Regions from separate parts of the Homo sapiens genome. Here regions 1, 3, 4, 5, 6 and 7 are each linked to region 2. The links are contacts of gene promoters, found by promoter capture Hi-C in blood cells and fetal thymus (Javierre and others, 2016). All regions are on one chromosome and are shown on one strand. Each heading gives the region's core, a stretch centred on a gene start or on the middle of the fragment in contact. The rest is flanking DNA. Distances are from core to core; before and after follow the strand shown. Region 1 overlaps NCK2 (NCK adaptor protein 2). Region 2 holds the start of TGFBRAP1 (transforming growth factor beta receptor associated protein 1). Region 3 overlaps UXS1 (UDP-glucuronate decarboxylase 1). Region 4 has its middle 13 kb from the start of UXS1. Region 5 has its middle 150 kb from the start of ECRG4. Region 6 overlaps UXS1 (UDP-glucuronate decarboxylase 1). Region 7 overlaps UXS1 (UDP-glucuronate decarboxylase 1).

Region 1 (2,700 bases), core at 91-2,590, 560 kb after region 2:
AATAAAATAGAATAGCTCCTTTCTGTATTTTTAAAGTTATAATATTTCTTAAAGAAATTATAACTTTTACCCAAAACTCTATTTTCAGGCAATTTCATCATTCCATTTCTCTAAATAATGATTCTCTAACTGTATGTAGTGTGTATCAGAATTGCCTTGAAGCTTGTTAAAACAAATTGCTGGGTCCTACCTGAAATGGTACTGATTCAGGAGGTCTGGGGCCCAAGAATTTGCATTTCTATTAATAGCACGTTTCTTGGTGGTGATGCTGCTGCTTTTGGGACCACACTTTGAAAACCCTTGATCCCTATGATGCATTCTTAGTGGTTTTATATATTCTTGCAGCTGTTATTAAAACCATTTCTGCATAATACTACATTTCCATGAATTATAAAAATATTGTCATAAAGCTGAACTTCATTTAGAACTGAAGCTTTTGTTGAGTGGGATTTATCTCTTGAAGTATATTTCTGTTGAGTTTTTTGGGGGGCTTTTTTGTGTTTTTGTTTGTTTGTTTTTTACTGTTTAGAGTTTGAAAATAAACGTGCTGTATTTGCTGTGTTTCTGCTGATGAATTAGGAGGAGGTAGATTGTCAGAGCAATGTGAAAGCTGCTTCCAGGGTTTCATGGTTAGGCTCCGTGATCCATGGTGTTTCTTCATAAATGAGTTAATGTTAAGATGACTTAACCTTAGGTTGCTGTGAGCAGTGCCTGTAGGCATCTTTCCAGTTTCAAAGATAACAAGTTATTTTTAATTGCCAGGCTTTTTGCCCAGTACCAAATGGAAGTTTTAAGCCTGGATTTTTGTAATAGTTCTAATTTTAAGCATATTTAACTCTTGAAGATGGAAAGGCCTGCAAGATCATGCAGTACAGGCTGTTATCTGGAAGTTTAGTGCTCATCACCTGATTCTGATTCTCAAATGGGCCAGAGCCCTTGAAGACTCTGCCTTCTCACTCTGGCTGGCTCTTCAATGCTGACCTTTAAAACAGACAACATCCAGCATCACCAGCAAACTTGCTAGAATGCAGATTGCCCCAGCTTGCTGACTTCGAATCTCTGGGGTAGGGCTCTGCAACCTTGGTTTGAAGAAGCCCTCTGAGTCCTTTTTTTGTTCCAAATCCTGAGAACCTATGAACTCCTGAATAATTCTGATGCGCCAATTTGAGAACCACTACGTTGTGGAGTATGCACTTGATTCAAGCCCTTTTGCATACTGTTGTGTAATATGGTAAAATTCTGACTTAAATGTATCACTCAGTCACATCAGGTATGACACTATGGAAAGACAAAGAATAACAAGGACAATATTCTACAGGTCTATATGGTGAGGTATTACATGTGACTTTAGGAAATACATTTGGGGATAGGGAGGGCTAACCACACACATGCATACTAACTGGAAAGTGGACAGGGAACGCTCCGTTTGCCTAGATTAGGTAGATGGGACTTGGACAGCTGCTCTGTAGTTGATGATTGACTTTTCATTTATGTAAATAAGATTACTTCCAAAGTTAATGAGATGAATATTTGAACATGTCAGTGTGGATTGGCTTCAGGCCTGTGGAGTAAATATTTTATAGAGTGAACATTGATAGGAGAATAGGAAAAGCTGGTGAGACTCTTCACACTTGGGGCAAGGAAGAGATAATCTGATGTAAAAACAAAGAACATAGGGTCAACTGACAGCTAGCAGCATAAGTATAGGCAGGAGTAATTTTTATTAAAAGAAGGCTACCTTAGACAACTAGGGCAGGTGACCAAATAGAATGGTAAAACTGAAAGGCAGTTTTTCTGAGATAAAAACAGAGAAACTATTAATCAGTGGATCACGATTTGCCTCTAACCCATTTGTTCTCACTTTTGGGAGGTAAATGAACCACTTCTGTGGACAGAAGAGTGCCTTCTGTAAAGAAGTAAAAGGGGAAAAACATGTCTTTACCAAAAGAAAAGAATGATACAACTTGTGATAAGAAACCAACAGGGTGACCTCTCTCTGGGGGTAGAAGGAGATGTGTAGATTATTGATGCTTGGAGACTTCAGCGTGGCTGGAGATCAGTCCAGGGTCTGTGTGGAAGGCCTGGTGAATCACACAAAGGGCATTTCTACCCTCATCATTTCATAAAGTCCAAAGTGAAAGATAAGGAGAAGTTTTAAGGTTTAAAGAACCAAAAGTACCTGGAGCAAGGCCCCTCCCTCCCGTTTCCTCATGACTATTGTGCTTAGAAGAAAATCGCATTAATACATAAGCTTTCAGGAATGGAGGAGGAAATAAAGGATATTAAAGTCTGTCCTCGGCATTCATTTTTTTCCTTCTATGAGAAAACAATGATTAAATCTTGAGAGAGGGAGAGGCGTATCTGATCAGGACATCTGTTTTATAAAACTGCAAAGGTGCTTTTCAGCAAGTATTTGAGGCAATGGATCAAGCTGGCAAAGCCATAGAGATGGGATCAAAGAGTGTGCTCTCTACTGTTCTTTTCTAAAAGTACCCACTTATCGCGAGCACAAATTGCAAAGAGATGAGGTGTAAGAATTACCTAAAGGAATGAATAATGGAAGAGGTAGTCAAAATTAGAAATTTTTAAGTCTGCACGTTTGTTGAACACCAGATACTCTGAGCCCGGTGTGGGGATGTGGAGCTAAATAGGGTTCTTGCACTTAGTTGTATTCAAACACAGAATCTAAAGCCTAAACAA
Region 2 (2,700 bases), core at 71-2,570:
AGGAAAAAGAAAAGGAAGCAGCTGACCAAATGTTCCTTCTGACTGACCATGGAACTGCGAGCTCTCAGTTGTCTGCCAGCTTCCGGCTGACCAACAGAGAGAAGCATGTCCACCATGAGAGAGTAGCAGCCACCACACAGTCCCTCTACATTCGTTCATCCTGACTCCAACCAAGCCAACACACACAACGCAGTAGGATCTTCCCTGCACACCTTCTCAGTGCCTTAACTTGCCACCACAATCACACCCGCAGCTGCCTTCCTTCCTGATAGACAAGGTGCTTGCCCATGAGCACTTCATCAGTGATTAAACTCTGCTCAGACATGTTTTGACCACAGCTGCGCGTGCAGTCCACGTGCAGTAAGGCCTGCTGTGTGATCTGTGAGCCCCCATTTTTAGCAGCCAGGTAGGAGGCTTCCTGAGGGTCACTCAACAGTCCTTGGGTAGAAGCCACGGCAGGTGCAGACAACCGGACAGCTTCCGTGTTTAAGGATATCAACACTTAACACAGGGAGGCAGGCGGACTAACTTGCACCTGCACCTCCAGAAGGCAATGGAAAGAAAACAATTCCACAGGGATGACAGCTTCCAGCCCTTGACCTGGTGCTAAAAACAGGGGCCAGGAAGCCCAGCACAGCACTTTTCCCTACTCCCCAACACACCCCTGCCTACTCTCCAGATCAGGACAATTCAGGCCTGAGTGTGACCCGAATTTGAGCTCTCAAATCCAAAGAGCTCCCAGAAACCTCAATCACAGCGCCAAAACCATTCCATACCAGGGATGGAGGTGCAAGTCCTTCCTGGCCCTTCTCCCCGGAAAACCCAAATCAAGGACGAGGTCTCTCAGGTCTTCCCTTGCCCTAAACACACACGCACTCCTCACACACAACATACACACTTGACCCCACACCCGTGCACACTTCATCCCACACACACGTGAACACTTATTTGCTCACCCCAGCAGGCTAGCCGGCCCCCACAAGGGACAGCTACCAAGTCGCACACCCGCACACCTGCCCCCAAGTGTATAGCCACTTGCTCCCCCCACCCCGCGTTCCAGCCCCCACTACACCTGCCCCAGCGCACACGCACGGGCTCGCCCTCCACCCCGCCCCGCCGCCTACCCCCCACTCCTGCTCCCCGCCCTCCTGCCCCACGCGCCCCGCGCCCTGAGCCCCGCACCCCGCGCCCCGCCGCCCTCCTCACTCACCGGCGCCGGCGCCCGCCGTCCCGCGCCGCCCCGCGGCCTGGGGCCCCGCCGCCCCGCTCCGGCCCGCGGCTCCTGGGCTGGCCCGACCCCGCAGCCGCCGCTTCCCGTCACGTGGGGCGGCCGCCAGGCGCTGGCGGAGGGCGGGAGCGCAGCCGTCTCCGCGCCGCCCGCCGGCCCGCGGGCCCTGCCGCCTGGCTCCGAGCACAGGCCGAGACGGGCCCTGCTCCGGGCCTCGGCGTCCCCCTCCGTGCACCGGGGCCACGACACGGCCCGCCTCGCGGGGCGGCCAGCGGGCGGAAGGTGTTCATTCGGGGGGCGCTGAGGCCGCCGGCCCCGGGCGAGAGCGTGGTCCGCGCCAGCTGTGCGAGCCCGCGGGGCTGAGGTCTCTTCTCCGCCCCCGCCGCTGCGGGGAGCTTCAGGGAAGCCGGGCTTTGCCTGGCTCGCTCGCCACCCAGTTTCTGTCACCTACACAGGAGGAGGGCGCCCGGGAAATACCTGCTGCGTGAATGAATAAATGAATGAAATGCTTGGGCCCTGGGAAATGCTTGGGCCCGCGGCCGCCTGACCACGCGGGCTGGAGGATCGGACGTACCGCCGGTGCCCCACCAGGAGACGAAGGCATGGTTGGGATGCGCAGCCCTCCCACGAGGCCCATGGCGCCCCAGGGCCCTAGGGATTGACCGGGACCCCCGACTGGCAGAGTCCACCTGCTTGATACACTTATTTGAGAAGGGAGGCCTGGGACTATCTTACTCCTTTTAGGAAAACCCAACTGTAGCTGCTATTCCTTTGGTTCAGGCCGCAAGGAAGAATTGTAGGTTACCATGAATCCATGAACCCCTCTTTAGTATACAAAGTCCACTTTCATGACGGAAGAATTGGAAAGCTCCCTCCAGAGTTGTCAGTACTCAATTATTAGCATATAAAAAGTCAAATTTTCCCAGGGATTTTCAGACTTTAGAACCTGCTAGTGACCTGTGGCCTCAGCTTTCTTCCAGCCACTCTGAGTATTGTAAAACAAAGATATTATCCCAACCCTGAAGGCAGATACCAGATTGTACGCCATGGTCTTCTGTTTCAAAGGGATAAAAAAAGAAAGAAAAGAAACTGGCCAAAAAAAAAAAAAAAAAAAAAAAACCCAACAATCTTCCTGTGACTTGCCCTCTACCCCTACCCTAGTGTGACTCATGGCCACATAAATGCCCCATCCCCAGTGGTGCTTCAGCTGTGACCCAGTGGAACCAGTGTCACCGGCTCAGCCTCCAGGTAGGGGACTGGCTTCCCAGGAGTGTAAAGCTCTGACCAGCAATTGAGCTTCAAGGGCAAGCAGCAGTGAATGGACCTTCAAGTCTAAGGTGGCCAACAGCTAGTGGAGCCAGGGATTGGGAAGGTACAAGAGCAAATCCAGTCTCTTCATTTTACCCAGGCTCACAGAGACTATGTGACTTGTCATCAACTAATCACTGGCTCAGGTGGTCCTAGAATTCACC
Region 3 (2,700 bases), core at 183-2,682, 850 kb after region 2:
CCTCCACATATAAAGTAAAAAAGCAAAGCACAGAAAAATCAAGGGCATAAAACCATTTACATTTTAAAAGCACCTAAGACATTCTACAAATGGTACAATGCAAAGGAAACAACCAGTAACCCACGGGAAGGTGAACAGGATTAGCTGGAAGGGAGCGATGCTTTCCATATACTTCCAGACTGTTTGACTGTTAAAATTATGAATTAAAACTAAGCCCCAGAAAGATATGTAAAATATCAATGACCCTTGCATGTCACTATCCAAATTATAAACCACCCTTAACCACCAAGTACCTTCCCAGGTTCTCCACCTCAACTTAGGATTTGGCTGCAAAAATACTACAGAGAGAAAGCTCTGCAATAAGTATTTCAGTAACAATTATGTGACTAATTCTTAGAGCTGGAAATAAGATACACTATCTGCACATCTCCACCTGAGAAAATCAAGTACTTTCTGTCATTGGAAGCAGGACACCAATAAACTTGGAAACACGTTGCACTCACACATTTCACTCGAGGTTCTAGTCCAGCGTCACCATTTAACAAGCACAAAACATCTCTTCATCTGAAATACCAGAGGATACCATCAAATTTGGGGAGAATAGGGAGAAAGAAATAGAAAAATTCCAGACCACTTCTGAACTCCAGAAAGCAAAAATGGACTTTGATCCTGCAAATTACTACAGACAACAAAGAAGTGGACTCTCCTTCCTCCTCTCCTCCCAACTTCGCAAATATCAATGATGCCTGGTGTGGCATGGTAGAAAATGTTACCATGCTATTTCTTTTGCCTTTTTCTACTTAAAGAGATGTAGGCTCCACCTAAGGATATGTGACAATATTTTACCTCAAACGATAACAATGGAAAATGAAATATACTTTCCCTAAGGTTACCAAATGAATGAATCTCCTTAGTTTTCTGATGGAACGAACAGATACATTAAAGAAAAAGAGGGAAACCAAGGGGAGGGAATCCCTCCTAGTTCATGGGGGCATCCCACAGGGTGGGCTGCGGAGAGGTCACTGGAGTTTCATCCCTCCCACACCTGTCACCAGTGAGGCTAAGCATCAGGGCCCTCATCCTTACAGGCACATCCCTCAGCAGCCCTGTACTCTTCTTCCCCGCTGCCAATCACGTCCCTGGCTCAGGGCGGGGCTCTGGAACCTCATCTCTCTCTGAAAACTGCTAACAGGCCCCAGCTCCCGGCACATGCTCCCTTCTCAGCAGGCTCCAGCGAGCACCACCGATTAGGTTTGAGAATAACCGTTAATGAATCTATTTTTAGAATGCCTAAGGCAAAGAAAGCTGGGGCAAGCGGGGCGTGGTGGCTCACACCTGTAATCCCAGCACTTTGGGAGGTCAAGACGGGCAGATCACCTGAGCTCAGGAGTTCGAGACGACCCTGGGCAACATGGTGAAACCCTGTCTCAACTAAAATACAAAAAACTAGCCGGGCATGGTGGCGTGCGCCTGTAGTCTCCTACTCAGGAGACTGAGGCACCAGAATCACTTGAGCTTAGGAGGGCAGGTTGCAGTGAGCCAATCTGGCGCCACTGCACTCCAGCTTGGGCTACAGAGTGAGACTCCATCTCAAAAAAAATAAATAAATTTTTTTAAAAATCCATACTAGTTAAGAAGAAAAAGTAAATTCAGACTTCTCACCACGACTTTTAGGAGGAACTACTATGATCTAAGAAACCTAGGAGTGCTAACGCTGGGATCCAACGTAACATGTAAAGCTCTATTATTTCTTTCTGAAAGTAGGGCACTTTCTAAAAGTTAAGAAGAAGATGGGAACAAAGTATACAACTTAAGGATTAATGCAAAAGGCAAAGGAGAAATTTTTTTAAAAGATGGATTATGACTTCAGGGCTCATTTTATTGCTTACTGTTAAGAAGTTTTGTTAGTAATATATTTGATACTTGATCTTGATGTAGAATGAATGCGAAAGAGAAATTTGATGGAAATACACTTCACAAAAGAAAGAAATTACAAAACTTTGCTGAGGGCCAAAAGAAAGGTCTATCTAAAGTATGGGTGTCCAATCTTTTGGAATCCCTGGGCCACAGTGGAAAAATAATTGTCTTGGGCCACATATAACGCTAACAATAGCTGAAGAGCAAAAAAAGCAAAACAAAACTCATAATGTTTTAAGAAAGTTTATGAATTTGTCCTGGGCCACATGCAGCCCGCGGGCAGTGGCTTGAACAAGTTTGGTAAAGAAAAGCTAGGCGCTATTTCTGGATGGGAAGGCAATTTAATATGCAGAAATTATGAGGTCTGGGATTTTTCTCTTCTTTGCACTTCATTCTCTAGCTTTTCCACATTGAGCACCTTGTTTTCTCATTTCTCCTGTATTTTGTAATTTTCAAATGGGAGCTTAAAAAATTTTAATAATGGTTTTAAGCTAGCCTTTTCATTTTGTGTTCAAAAAGGGCAGAGAGGGAAAGAAGGTGAGAGAGGGATCTAGGAGGACCATCTCCAAACCACAGCACCCACGGGCATGATCCTCAGCCACCACAGCTGTGCCCCAACCCAGAGGGCTGTCAGTGCTCTGGGCTCATTCTCCATGCCTCAGTTTCCCCACCTATGAAATGGAGAGAACATCTCCCCTCTTCACGCCTCACTGCAGGATAGTTGGGTGCTGCTTCTCCTGCCCAAAATGAGGGCTGCATTTCAGCATCTACACTGGTGGGTGG
Region 4 (2,700 bases), core at 124-2,623, 880 kb after region 2:
TGTCGAATGCAGATGACCTTGAATGAATAATATTTTTAGAAAACTATGAGAAGCCATTGGGAGAAAAATTCCATATATAATGTTATTATTTCTCATATATGTACCAGTTTCATTCACATATATTCATGTCTTCTTAGAGGTAAATTTTCACATTGTGACCTTTGCCCTGGTCCTTTCCCTTTGATGATTTTCCTTTTCATGACCTCTCCAATATTACATCTTTATTTTTTCTCTTCATTCTTGAAAATACTTTAAAATTTTTAATTTCCCCAAATGTCTTCCTAGTCACTGGTGTATTCCTCCATTTCACGTCTCTCCCATGTGAGAGCCAGTATTTGAAACCTACCCACGTGAGCCTTGTATCCTTTTCAGTGTGTTCATTCTCCTAATGCCAGTCTAGCAATTTAATTTTTTCAATTATTTTAGGCAGGCAGGGTGGCCTTTAAAAACAAGAAATGGTATCCATACACTTTCTCTGGAGGAAGGAGTCCCTCTACCTGCTTGTCAATGATAAGCTTCATGGGGGTGAACCCTGTTCCTCCAGATTAGAGACCTGGGGATGGGCTGAGTTAGGAACACACCACAGTCACATGGCTTTAATTAGAGCTGGGAGTGTGTCCCTTCATATGGTTTTGGATATTTGAATTTAGGAAAGAAATTAACCTGAGCTCAAAATTATAACCTGAATTCTTTATAAAAGGACAATTGCATAGACATGGCTGATACCTCATCTTTGAAAAATAATGAAGCCTTGAAAATACATCAGATAGTTATACCGTTGAGATGCTACAAAAGAGAAAATATCTGTGCAAGCAAGAGAGTCTGTGTGTAACTAACATACATTTGCATATAGCAATATGGAAGTGATTTTGACTGGAGACTATCACGAAATGATCATTCCAGAATCTATCTGTAGAGAAATTAATGAAAGTATGAGGGTAATCAGTCCTTCAGCAGCCTGTCACCTTCCCAACAACAGAGAACTCACACTGGAGAGGAGCCCTTGAATACAGTGAGTGTGGGAAAATCTCCATCCCAGCTCCACATTGACTCAGCATGTGATAGCCCACATGGAAAAACCCCATGCCTGTAATCAATGTGGAAAGATTCTCAGTGACTGCTAGTCCTTTCGTTGACATAAATCAACTCACATTGGAGTTAAACCTTATAAATGTCATCTATGCAGGAAAGTCTTTAATCATTGATCTTACATTAGACAACAGGAGCCCACTCACACTGGAGAGAAATTATATGAATGTCATCTATGTAGAAAAGTCTTTAGTACATACTCTGGCCTTAGACAACACAAGAAGATCCACACTGGAGATAAACCATCTAAATGGAATTACTGTGAGAAACACTTTGGTCAGAACACCAAATTTATTCACACCATGGAACTCACACAGAAGAGAAACCTTATAAATGCAATAAATTTGGGAGGCATCTCAGACAAAGTGTAACCTTTATTCACACCAAAGAACTTGCATGACAGAGAAACTCTGTAAATATAGTAAATGTGGGAAAGAATTCCACCTGAGCATTCAGCTTTATTCACACCACATAATTCACACTGCAGAGAAATCCTGTAAGTGTAATGACGGTGGAAGAGCCATCAGTTATCCTTTATCCCTCAGTCAACACAAGCAAATTCACACTGGAGAGAAATGATATGAATGTCATTTATGTGGAAGAGTGTGGTCAAATTTCTGGTTAGTAAACATAAGAGAATTTGCACTAAAGAAATAAAGTAACTGTGACCAGGATTTTAGATCACAGTGAAGTGGCCTTGTTGTCTGGGGGGAGGTTCTTGGTCTCATGGCCACGGAGATTAAGGACCCGGACACACACAAGGGTGAGGTCTAGAGCAGAACTGTAATAGGTGAAAGAAAGAGGATAGCTCTCTCCTACAGAGAGGGGTCCCAGGAAAATGGGTTGCCAATCTCTGGTGAAATGCAGGGGGTTTTTATAGATGAGCTAATGGGAAGATGGTGTCTGATCTACATAGGGCATGAAAATCTGGTTAGGACCAATTGTGCCATTTGCACAGGGCATGAATCTCTGGCAGCCCCCACCCCAATCTTTTATTATGCAGGTGGGTAGCTACTCCATGTTGCTTATTTCTTTCGGACTGTATACATGGTAACAAAAAAAGGGAAGGTGGAGCCCCATGGTGGACATGCCTGGCCCCAGGTAGCCCTTTTCTGTGGGTGTAGCTATAGGCCTCCCCCAGTGCAAGCTTCCAGCTTCCTTATCAATGCTTGCAGCTCAATCTTTCAGGCTTCTCTTTGTTAAAAAAGGAATGATTTCTTGGGCTGCTTTTTGTTAGAAGGGAAGTTCTGTCAAGGACTCTTTTGCCCTCACTATCTGCCTAAATAATTTCTTTCTATCTCCTGTATCAAGAGCTCTCACTTGATTTACACACACACCAAAAATAAGAATTATAGGGGAGAAAAATCATATGAATGTCAGATATGTGGGAAAGCCTTCAGTCAATTCTCTGACTATGGACAACCTGGGAGAACCTACATTAGAAATGTAATAAATGCATAAGAGCCTTCAGCAGTAGCTGTAAACTTTATAAACACCAGAGAACTTACATGGAGGAGAAACTTTATGCCTGTCATCAATGTGGAAATGCCTTCATATCTAACTTATCCTTCAAACAACAGGAGTGAACTGTACTGTAGATAAGCCCTTGGT
Region 5 (2,700 bases), core at 192-2,691, 590 kb after region 2:
TTCTGCCTGGAAAGTTGATCTTTCTGTCTCCAATTACCACTCTTTTCTACCTAACTCCCATTTGTCTTCAAGACTCAGTTCAGGAATCTCCCACCTGAGAGACTGGATCCACTCCTCATTTTGAGCTGCATACTCCTCCCATGTGTGATCCCCCATAGATCTGTGCACATTTTCATTGTAGCATTTACCACACCATGCTGTAATGTATGTGTTCCTCCCATAGATGATGAGCTTCTTGTGTGAAGGACATGTCCTATTTGTGTATGTAACCCCAGAGAGGAGCACAGCACCTGTCATAATGTACATGGTCAGTAAATATTTAATGAATAACTACTTCCAGACATAGGGTCTGATGCCATGAAGCCCTACTGTAGCTGGAAGAAGACGTGATACTGTCTGCCTGAGATAGGTCCCAAGCAGGTTTCTGCGGCCCATCTTCTTTGGTGGTTTATATCTGCTTTTACTCAGTCAAGTTCTTTCCTGCCTGTCATCAGAGCTACATTTCTTGCTTTCTAGCTCCTGCATTCAAGATGAGTCCAGGCCATATTGTCAGCACAGTCTTGATTTTAGAACCCCAGCCCCAGCAGTGTCTACTACTTAGTCTAGTTTATCCACAGGTGCCCAAGGCACTGTGTGTGGAACACAGGGTGGTGGCTTGTGGGTGCTTCTGACTCCAGACTGACAAGTTACCTAGATTCTACCTGTCACTTGAGGTAGGCTGTGGTAAACAAAAGTAGCATTCAACAAGCAGGTGACCAAACGACCAATGATTATCAAAACCTAAAGAAAACAGTCTAAAAATAGAAGAACTGACAACTGAGGAAACAGAGCTAATTCAAGAAACACTCACTTGAAAATGAATGCAACTAGTATTTTCAGATTTGAGAGAATGCTGATTCACAAAATGGAAGAAGCATAGCAGATGGAGTGGCTGCTGGCATCTGGAAATGTTCTTGACCTTAACAATGCAGAAGAGAAACTACAGATGAAAAGTTAGTCAGTGAAAAGGGGAAGACTGCTGAAGAAAAGCCCAAGAGAGCCTTTCCGTAGTTGATAAACAGTGGCTAAAAGTCTAAGTAAGTTGCCTAGAGTTAGCAAGGTAACCTATAGAGAAAGAAAAGAGTGATGTGAGAAACTGAAAGGGTGGGAAAGGGGAGGTGAAATGTGGTGTAAATAAATGAAATCCTCACCCATCTTAGCAGAAATCTCATGTCCAAAACAGATAGATCTAGAAATAGGCCAGTTAATTAAAGACATAGAAGCACCTATAAACTAAGGTTGGGAGATAAGGAAGATGAGAGTGTTTTTCCCCTTCAAATGTATTTGAATCTTCTGAGTCTTCTCACAATAAAAATGGCTTACCTGTGTAATAAGAACAAATAAATGTATAATGAAATACAAGTACATTTGCATTATGCATACATGTTGCTACTATAAACCAAAAAGTACCTGAGACAGGTCTCAAACAATTTAAAAGTTTATTTTGCCGAGGATAAGGACATGCCCAGGAAAAAGGAACACAAAGCCACAGGAACAGTCTGTGGTCCATGTCTTTTTCCAAAGATGATTTTGGGGGCTTCAATATTTAAAGGGGGAAAGTGGGCTGGAGGGGAGAGAGGGAGGGTATGGTCACGTTATTGAATCCATGGGTTGCAAGAGAAAAGGGGCCAGGTAAGGTGGCTCATGCCTGTAATCCCAGCACTTTAAGAAGCCTAGGCGGGTGGATTGCTTGAGGTCAGGAGTTCAAGACCAGCCTGGCCAACATGGTGAAACCCTGTCTCTACTGAAAATACAAAAATTGGCCAGGCATGGTGGTGGGTGCCTGTTATCCCAGCTACTCTGGAGGCTGAGGCAAGAGAATCACTTGACCCTGGGAGGTGGAGTTTGCAATGAGCCGAGATTGTGCCATTGCACTCCAGCCTGAGTGACAGAGCGAGACTCCGTCTCAAAAAAAGAAAAGGAAAAAAGAGAAAAGGAGCAGGTAGGGGAATAGTCAATTAGATATTCCTCTCATGCTCAGTAAATTGGCACTTTATGTAAGGATAAGATGAACATAGAGTAGCTACCTGGGAAGCTACTTTTTATCTGTAGCTATCTGCTTAGGAACAAAAGGAAAGGTCTTGCATTACTCCACTTTCAGCTTAGTTTTTTCCTTTTGGCATCGTTAATTGGGATCCCAAGATTTTATTTTCCTTCGACACTGCCCATGTAAATTCAAGTATGCAGGCAGAGAGAGCTGGGGAAGGAAGGAGAATGAGAGAAATGACATTGAAATCCTGTAGTGGAGGTGACTCCACTGCTCCTCTGCTGCGGGCATGGAATTTGCCTCCAGGTGAGTGTGAGGGAGGAAATGGAAGCCCACTCTTCTCTTACTGGGTCTCAGATGTTTGCCACACCGGGTGGGATCTTGATGCTTAGAGATAAGAGTTTTAGTAAAACATGGTGTCCTAAACACAGCCTTTAGGGCGCTAATAGCACTCATGGTCCTCAATATCCAGATGTTGAGTGAGTGGAGACCTCAGTGATCTGACATTGGCTTCTCACAGCAGAAGCACTTTAGATTTGTGCCTAGGTAGTATTTTAAATTCCTCTACCTAGATTAACTGTGAGTGACTGTGTTTACCAGTGCTCTCTGCAGCTGGCTTCATTAGGGGCAAGCAGAGAATGATTGATTCTCCCACGGCTCCTTTAAACTCTTTC
Region 6 (2,700 bases), core at 158-2,657, 840 kb after region 2:
AATGTAAAAGGTGTTTCAGGCTCATAAAAACAGATCAACACTATCCATCTCTTTTTAGGAACAATCCCCTAAGCATGGCCCACAAAAGCTTAACATCTTGTTTCTGCAATTACTGTGTATACTCATGTTATCAGCTGCAGCACATAAATTGCAGGCTGTGAGTCAACCTACATCCACGTCTGTAGACACTGTGGACTCAGGCAGAAAGACAGCAACTCAAGGGCTTCCCAGGACTCCCTAAGTTGGCTTCAAATCCAAAGTAAGTAACCTCCCATCCCCTCCCCCACAGCCCATGTTACAACGGTCTGGCTGTATCTACATGTATTTAAATAGGAGGTGCATAACTGAGCATAGGTGCTAGCCTTCAGCTGGGTGGGTGTGCAACGTCTCCATCTGTGCACGTGGCCTAGCATCCGATTGGTGGCCATTGTTCTTTTCAGCACCTGTGCCAGTGAGAGGATGTTTGTACTCATCTCTATCTCCCAAAGGCAATCACTTCCCTTTCTCTAAAAAACGCTTACCTGAAAAGTCATGTAAAAGTCTAAATCCATTTTGCCTTTGAGGTAGAATTTGTTTTAATACATCAAAAATGGACCAACAGTAACAGACTGCATGTCCTCTTAAATAAGGGAGTAATTTTTTGAGACACGGTTGCAAAATCACAGAACAGCATCAAGCTGCCACAATAAGAATGACAGCACGAGCAAAGGAAGTAAAATTGACAAGTATACAGATGAAATAGATACAAAAATAGAAAAAAGACTAACCTCTTCAATCTTGCTTTCAATTTTTAGTTCACCATTTTCCTGGATAGACCTGTTGAGTAGAAAGCTATAAAACTGAGATCAACTGAAAGGCTTTGTGACTTTAAGACTGTTTCTGAATAAATTACCCTAACATAACCCAACGGATGCAGACCACCTCTGTCTCCTGCTCAAGTATCAGTCATGTGTACAATTCCCTCCAGAAGGGATGCACCAGAGGAAAAGAAGACAACCAAAGGGAAGGACTCCCCTTAAATCCATCTGTGAACATGCTCAGTATTACCTAATGGATTATTTCCACTAAACTAAAATAATCTCACTGCTATGCTACATCCAACACAGGATTTTAAATTTGAAGCAGGAAGTGCGTCTGTAGGAGTATGTGTTTGTGCCTGCTGGGCTTTCCTGGGGATTTAATGTAAAAATGGAGTCTTTTAAGTAAAACCACAGAGCTCCTTTAAAAGGGATCTGAGCACCCCACCTAGTCATACACAGCAGCCTTTGTCAGGAGACACACACATGCCCTGGTGGTAGGAATCAAATCGACACCATCCCACCCACCTTGCAAAACCCAACTCCACATGAAAAGCCTCCTGAGGGCATAGTAACCTTTTACCCTGGTAGACATGTGCAGCCGCATTACATTACAATACCAACCTAATCATCACAATAGTGATTCTCACAACATAACCAAGTGGAGCAAATTTTCCTTTACATGGAAAACTATTAACAGTACCAAATGGTTTTTACAATAAGTGCTTATTTCTTTTTGCTGATTTTTTTAAAGGCTATTTTTTTTTATTTGGTAAAGAGATAACACGAGTTTTATTTTTACAAGAGTGCCTCCTGCCCTATGAAGAAGCACACACGATGCATACAGGCCTAACGCTGGACTAAATAGGTGGTCTCTGCATCGATACCCACTAGCTGGCCCCCTGAGGTCATGGGCCTGCCATGGCTTCCCGAAGACAGCTCCCTTCTCAGAAGGCTTTGCAAAAGCCCCTCAGTGTTCTTGCTCAATCCACCCAGAAATACAATTTACATAAGCTAGGGTCAACCCTTTATTATCTACACAAGGAGGGAAGCGGGGGTGGCCGACCATTGTTTTACTTGTGGGCCTTACTTGGTAATTGTTAAAATCAGCTGCATTCCTTGAGAATACCCATAGGAGAAAAGAAACAGCTCAGATATGTGAATAGCAAGAACCCACTTTTGTTTTAAAAATATTTTTCAATTAACCCATGACATCCATGGTATATATGTACCAACTGAAATGTGTCTATAAAATCCAACCACAGTACCCAAGTAATTAAAAACAATTACCTCATATTAACGAAGTTGCCCCAAACAGCTGTAAGAGAAAGAAAAAAGGAAGTCAATGTTTAAGTCCACAACTTTCAGGGATTCCAATGGATGGAATCTTAAATTTTAACCAATATTTTAAATTTTACAAAGAAAATTAACTTACGAAGACAACAAAATGCATACTTTGTTTTCAAAACAATTAAATCTTACTACAAAATAAGTAAAAACAGGATCGTAGAGTTTATTCAGGCCAAGTTTGAGAACTGCAACCCAGGAACATCAATTCAAGTTGCCCTGAATATATGCTCCCATCAGCAGCAGTGACAAGTGGGCTTTTAAAGGAAAAGGCAGTTTCTAAGTTATCAAGAATTTACATTAAAATAACATAAGCTACTGATTGGCCATATATTGTTTTTTGTATCAAAAATCCCAGGAAAAAGATAATTGGTTGAGGCAGCTGGGCAGAAACAAAATACCTTTAAAGAACCGGCCCTGGGCATGGCAGGGCATGACTTTAGTTCCGTGCTCATGACTCTCCAGCCTGATAAATTTTGCAAACCTCACATGGCTCACACTGCTCTGAGCTGTTTTTCTTTTCTATCTATCCCTGCAGTTTTGGAATACCTCTTTT
Region 7 (2,700 bases), core at 186-2,685, 790 kb after region 2:
TGTCCACCAGCTTTACCTATATAAAAATTCACTAGGTAAGAAATACAATCATAGGACTGAAAGCAAAAGAAAACAGTTGAGAATCATATCACTCCTGGAACACATTCTAGAATAAAATGCAATGATGTACCCCTGACACTCTAGTCAGTACTCCTAAGTACCCATGCACACAGAGTGGTCCTGTGTGTCTGGAAGATCATCTGAAACTTTTGAGTCAAGATATTCTGGGCCCCAAAATGATGAAAGTATGTTCCTACTAAAACTGATCGGCATTTCATAGAGGAAGTGGATAATGTAAGCCAACAGACTAAAGTCGCTTAGAAGGCAATTAGTTCTGCTTCTGGCCAAGAAATAAAGCAGAAAAGTTTAAATATAAACAATAGCATAAGGTTAATTTATGCATCTTTAATGCTGGCATTTCATTAAACACATGATGAGAAAGAGAGTCCTCGACATTCTCTCCTACCCCTCAGAGAGCCTACCTGGCTTTACATTGCCCTGTCCTCTGTGGTACCACGGGAAGGGAAGTCGATTAAACTCTCATCCCAAGGTCAGGAACAGGAGACCTGGCCCTTGGCACATGCTTGACTGGGGCTCTGCCGGGGCCTGAGACAGACAGTCAGGAAAACTCCTGGATGCTGGCCATGCTGATGACACTTGCCCCTCCTACAGAGCACATAGCCGACAGTTCCCCAGGCTCACCTGCAGACTGGGCCCTGGGCCTGACAGCATTGCTCCCAGAAACAGACACTGCATCTACCAACAGCCTGTCCTGGACCAACGTTCCACAGCCATGTTGATTTACCTGCATGTCCCACTATACCAGAGGGCATTTTCATGAGGATGTGAAAATTCAGACCCAAGCCCAAGGACACACTCAGTGAGAACATGAATGGGATATCCTGTGCCCAGGCCTCCACCTTCTCTGCACAGTTCATTGGCTCCTGCACCACCCTGAGATGGGCAGGGCAGGCTTCACAAACCCTGTGTCAGAGATAAGAACTGAGAGAATGACGGCTTAAATCTTGGAGTCACACAGCAGCACAGCCAGTGTGGCAACCTCGGCCTCTTGGTCTGTGAGCAATTTCTGCTATAACATGCAGGTGACCAAATCTGTCACATAAAATATCATCAGCACAACAATGACTAATGAAGAAAGCATGAAATAACAGTAAATAAATATCAATAACAATAAAGAGGTTCAAATTACAGCAATAACGCATCCATTTTTTTACTTAATTGATAGAAAAGTAAAAAAAGAAGATCCATTGATTTGGAGGCTTCAGGAAAAGAGGTACTTCTTAGCTGCTGGTGAGCAACTGGCAATGAAGAAGCATTCTGTTCATAGCCATAAAATAGTATTCCAAACCCAAGAATTGATCTCTAGGAAATCATTTTTAAAATAAGGAGATACATGGAAAAAGCTGTTGATAATACCATTAATTTATAATACTGGGAAACTGAGCTTCCCAAACACCTATCCCCAGACAAAATCAGTCATGGCATTCATTCCTTTACAACACTTTACATCTGAGGTCAGGGTGCTCAGCACGCCTAAACCGCAAGCCTAGACCCTGGTGAAATACCTGCTTCATGTAGGCATAGCACATGGTCTCTGCAACACGTTTGCCTTCATCGTAGCAGGCCCGAGGTCCTATTGGATTCACGTGGCCCCAGTAATCCTCACTTTGAGGGTGGACTTCAGGATCTACGATGGGAGAAAAGTGAGACTGTTTTCATCTTTCCTTTTTCCAGTTCATATCAATAATGCATATTTATGATGCAAAAGGGAACTTCGGAAAGACCCATTTAGAGATGGAGAGATGTATTAAAGAGGCAACCTCAGGTTTCCAGTCCATTCTCTTGAGTTCCAGTAGGATATGATATTAAGCAATGACAATATTTTACTTACAGGGGAAAAAAAAAAAGAAAAAGATCAGGTCTCCCAATTTTAAGTCTTCCCTCTCTTCCGTAAATTGTTCTTAACTTTCAGAGTGCTACACAAATTACAATTAAATAGAATCTATGTGAAGAGATATGTGGTTTTGTTTTATATTTATAAAGTTGATAACTGGAGCAAATCATGTATTTATTGAAAAAAAATGAAAAACGCAGCATCTCTGGAACATGATGACTTTGACATGTGCCATCAGCAGAACAAATCTGGGACCCGTGACAAGTCAACGTGGAGGCTCCTGTAGGGCAGGTGGAGGGACGGGGTGCCCCTGGCAAATGGGTGCCTGTTCTTCTAGCCCTCATTTTACACTCCCAATTCCTGTTTCTCTAGCGTATAAATCAATCACACTTTAAGACATACCAGGGGAAGAGACTATTGGAAGAAAACACGTAACAAATTCTTTTATTCACACAAGTATATTTCTGGAATATGAATATACACCTAATTTATTTAGTACACCAAGAATTTTATACATACTTGAGTACAACTATGATATAAAATGTATAAGTCTTTGCCACGAAATCTGGACAAAAAGATGCATTGTTATAAATTCCCATCTTGTTTATCTTACCCCTGAAGTCTGACTTGGGACTCAGTGGGCCTGAGCAGGTGCAGGGAGGTAAACAGACAGGTATCCTGCCACTTGTCTGCTCAGCCGATCCCTCTGGGTCAGCACAGCCTCCGCAGCAATGCAGAAGTGTGCTGCAAAGAAAGGTCTATGTATCTGCTGCTGTGGTTTAAAA

Evidence for each region. The method cuts DNA at HindIII sites, captures the fragments that hold promoters and counts their contacts. A CHiCAGO score of 5 or more calls a contact.
Region 1: a fragment that was not itself captured here is called in contact with the fragment with the promoter of TGFBRAP1 in region 2 in 1 of 17 cell types (neutrophils); the score reaches 5.3 in neutrophils.
Region 3: a fragment that was not itself captured here is called in contact with the fragment with the promoter of TGFBRAP1 in region 2 in 1 of 17 cell types (neutrophils); the score reaches 6.0 in neutrophils.
Region 4: a fragment that was not itself captured here is called in contact with the fragment with the promoter of TGFBRAP1 in region 2 in 1 of 17 cell types (naive CD8 T cells); the score reaches 5.8 in naive CD8 T cells.
Region 5: a contact is called between a fragment that was not itself captured here and the fragment with the promoter of TGFBRAP1 in region 2, in 1 of 17 cell types (neutrophils). The highest score is 5.2, in neutrophils.
Region 6: a contact is called between a fragment that was not itself captured here and the fragment with the promoter of TGFBRAP1 in region 2, in 4 of 17 cell types (naive CD8 T cells, total CD8 T cells, total B cells and 1 more). The highest score is 7.4, in naive CD8 T cells.
Region 7: a contact is called between a fragment that was not itself captured here and the fragment with the promoter of TGFBRAP1 in region 2, in 1 of 17 cell types (naive CD4 T cells). The highest score is 5.4, in naive CD4 T cells.

The regions. Positions count from the first base shown.
Region 1 is chr2:105,885,407-105,888,106 of GRCh38, forward strand. All of the region lies in intron 4 of NCK2 (NCK adaptor protein 2), which reads left to right. Among named protein-coding and RNA genes, the nearest start is that of NCK2, 140 kb to the left of the region's middle. The HindIII fragment of the contact is 1,818 bases long and covers 432-2,249 here.
Region 2 is chr2:105,328,415-105,331,114 of GRCh38, forward strand. It overlaps TGFBRAP1 (transforming growth factor beta receptor associated protein 1), which reads right to left and starts at 1,321. Exons shown (of 12, transcript NM_004257.6): 1 at 1,211-1,321. RefSeq lists a silencer at 1,206-1,635. The HindIII fragment of the contact is 18,854 bases long and covers 1-2,700 here.
Region 3 is chr2:106,180,124-106,182,823 of GRCh38, forward strand. All of the region lies in intron 1 of UXS1 (UDP-glucuronate decarboxylase 1), which reads right to left. Among named protein-coding and RNA genes, the nearest start is that of UXS1, 13 kb to the right of the region's middle. The HindIII fragment of the contact is 3,918 bases long and covers 1-2,700 here.
Region 4 is chr2:106,206,420-106,209,119 of GRCh38, forward strand. No RefSeq gene overlaps it. Among named protein-coding and RNA genes, the nearest start is that of UXS1, 13 kb to the left of the region's middle. The HindIII fragment of the contact is 1,721 bases long and covers 514-2,234 here.
Region 5 is chr2:105,914,379-105,917,078 of GRCh38, forward strand. No RefSeq gene overlaps it. Among named protein-coding and RNA genes, the nearest start is that of ECRG4, 150 kb to the right of the region's middle. RefSeq lists an enhancer at 697-946. The HindIII fragment of the contact is 6,170 bases long and covers 1-2,700 here.
Region 6 is chr2:106,163,969-106,166,668 of GRCh38, forward strand. UXS1 (UDP-glucuronate decarboxylase 1) reads right to left here. Exons shown (of 15, transcript NM_001253875.2): 2 at 2,088-2,115; 3 at 768-831. Among named protein-coding and RNA genes, the nearest start is that of UXS1, 29 kb to the right of the region's middle. RefSeq lists an enhancer at 1,103-1,622. The HindIII fragment of the contact is 2,642 bases long and covers 87-2,700 here.
Region 7 is chr2:106,121,384-106,124,083 of GRCh38, forward strand. UXS1 (UDP-glucuronate decarboxylase 1) reads right to left here. Exons shown (of 15, transcript NM_001253875.2): 9 at 1,587-1,708. Among named protein-coding and RNA genes, the nearest start is that of ECRG4, 57 kb to the left of the region's middle. The HindIII fragment of the contact is 3,071 bases long and covers 1-2,700 here.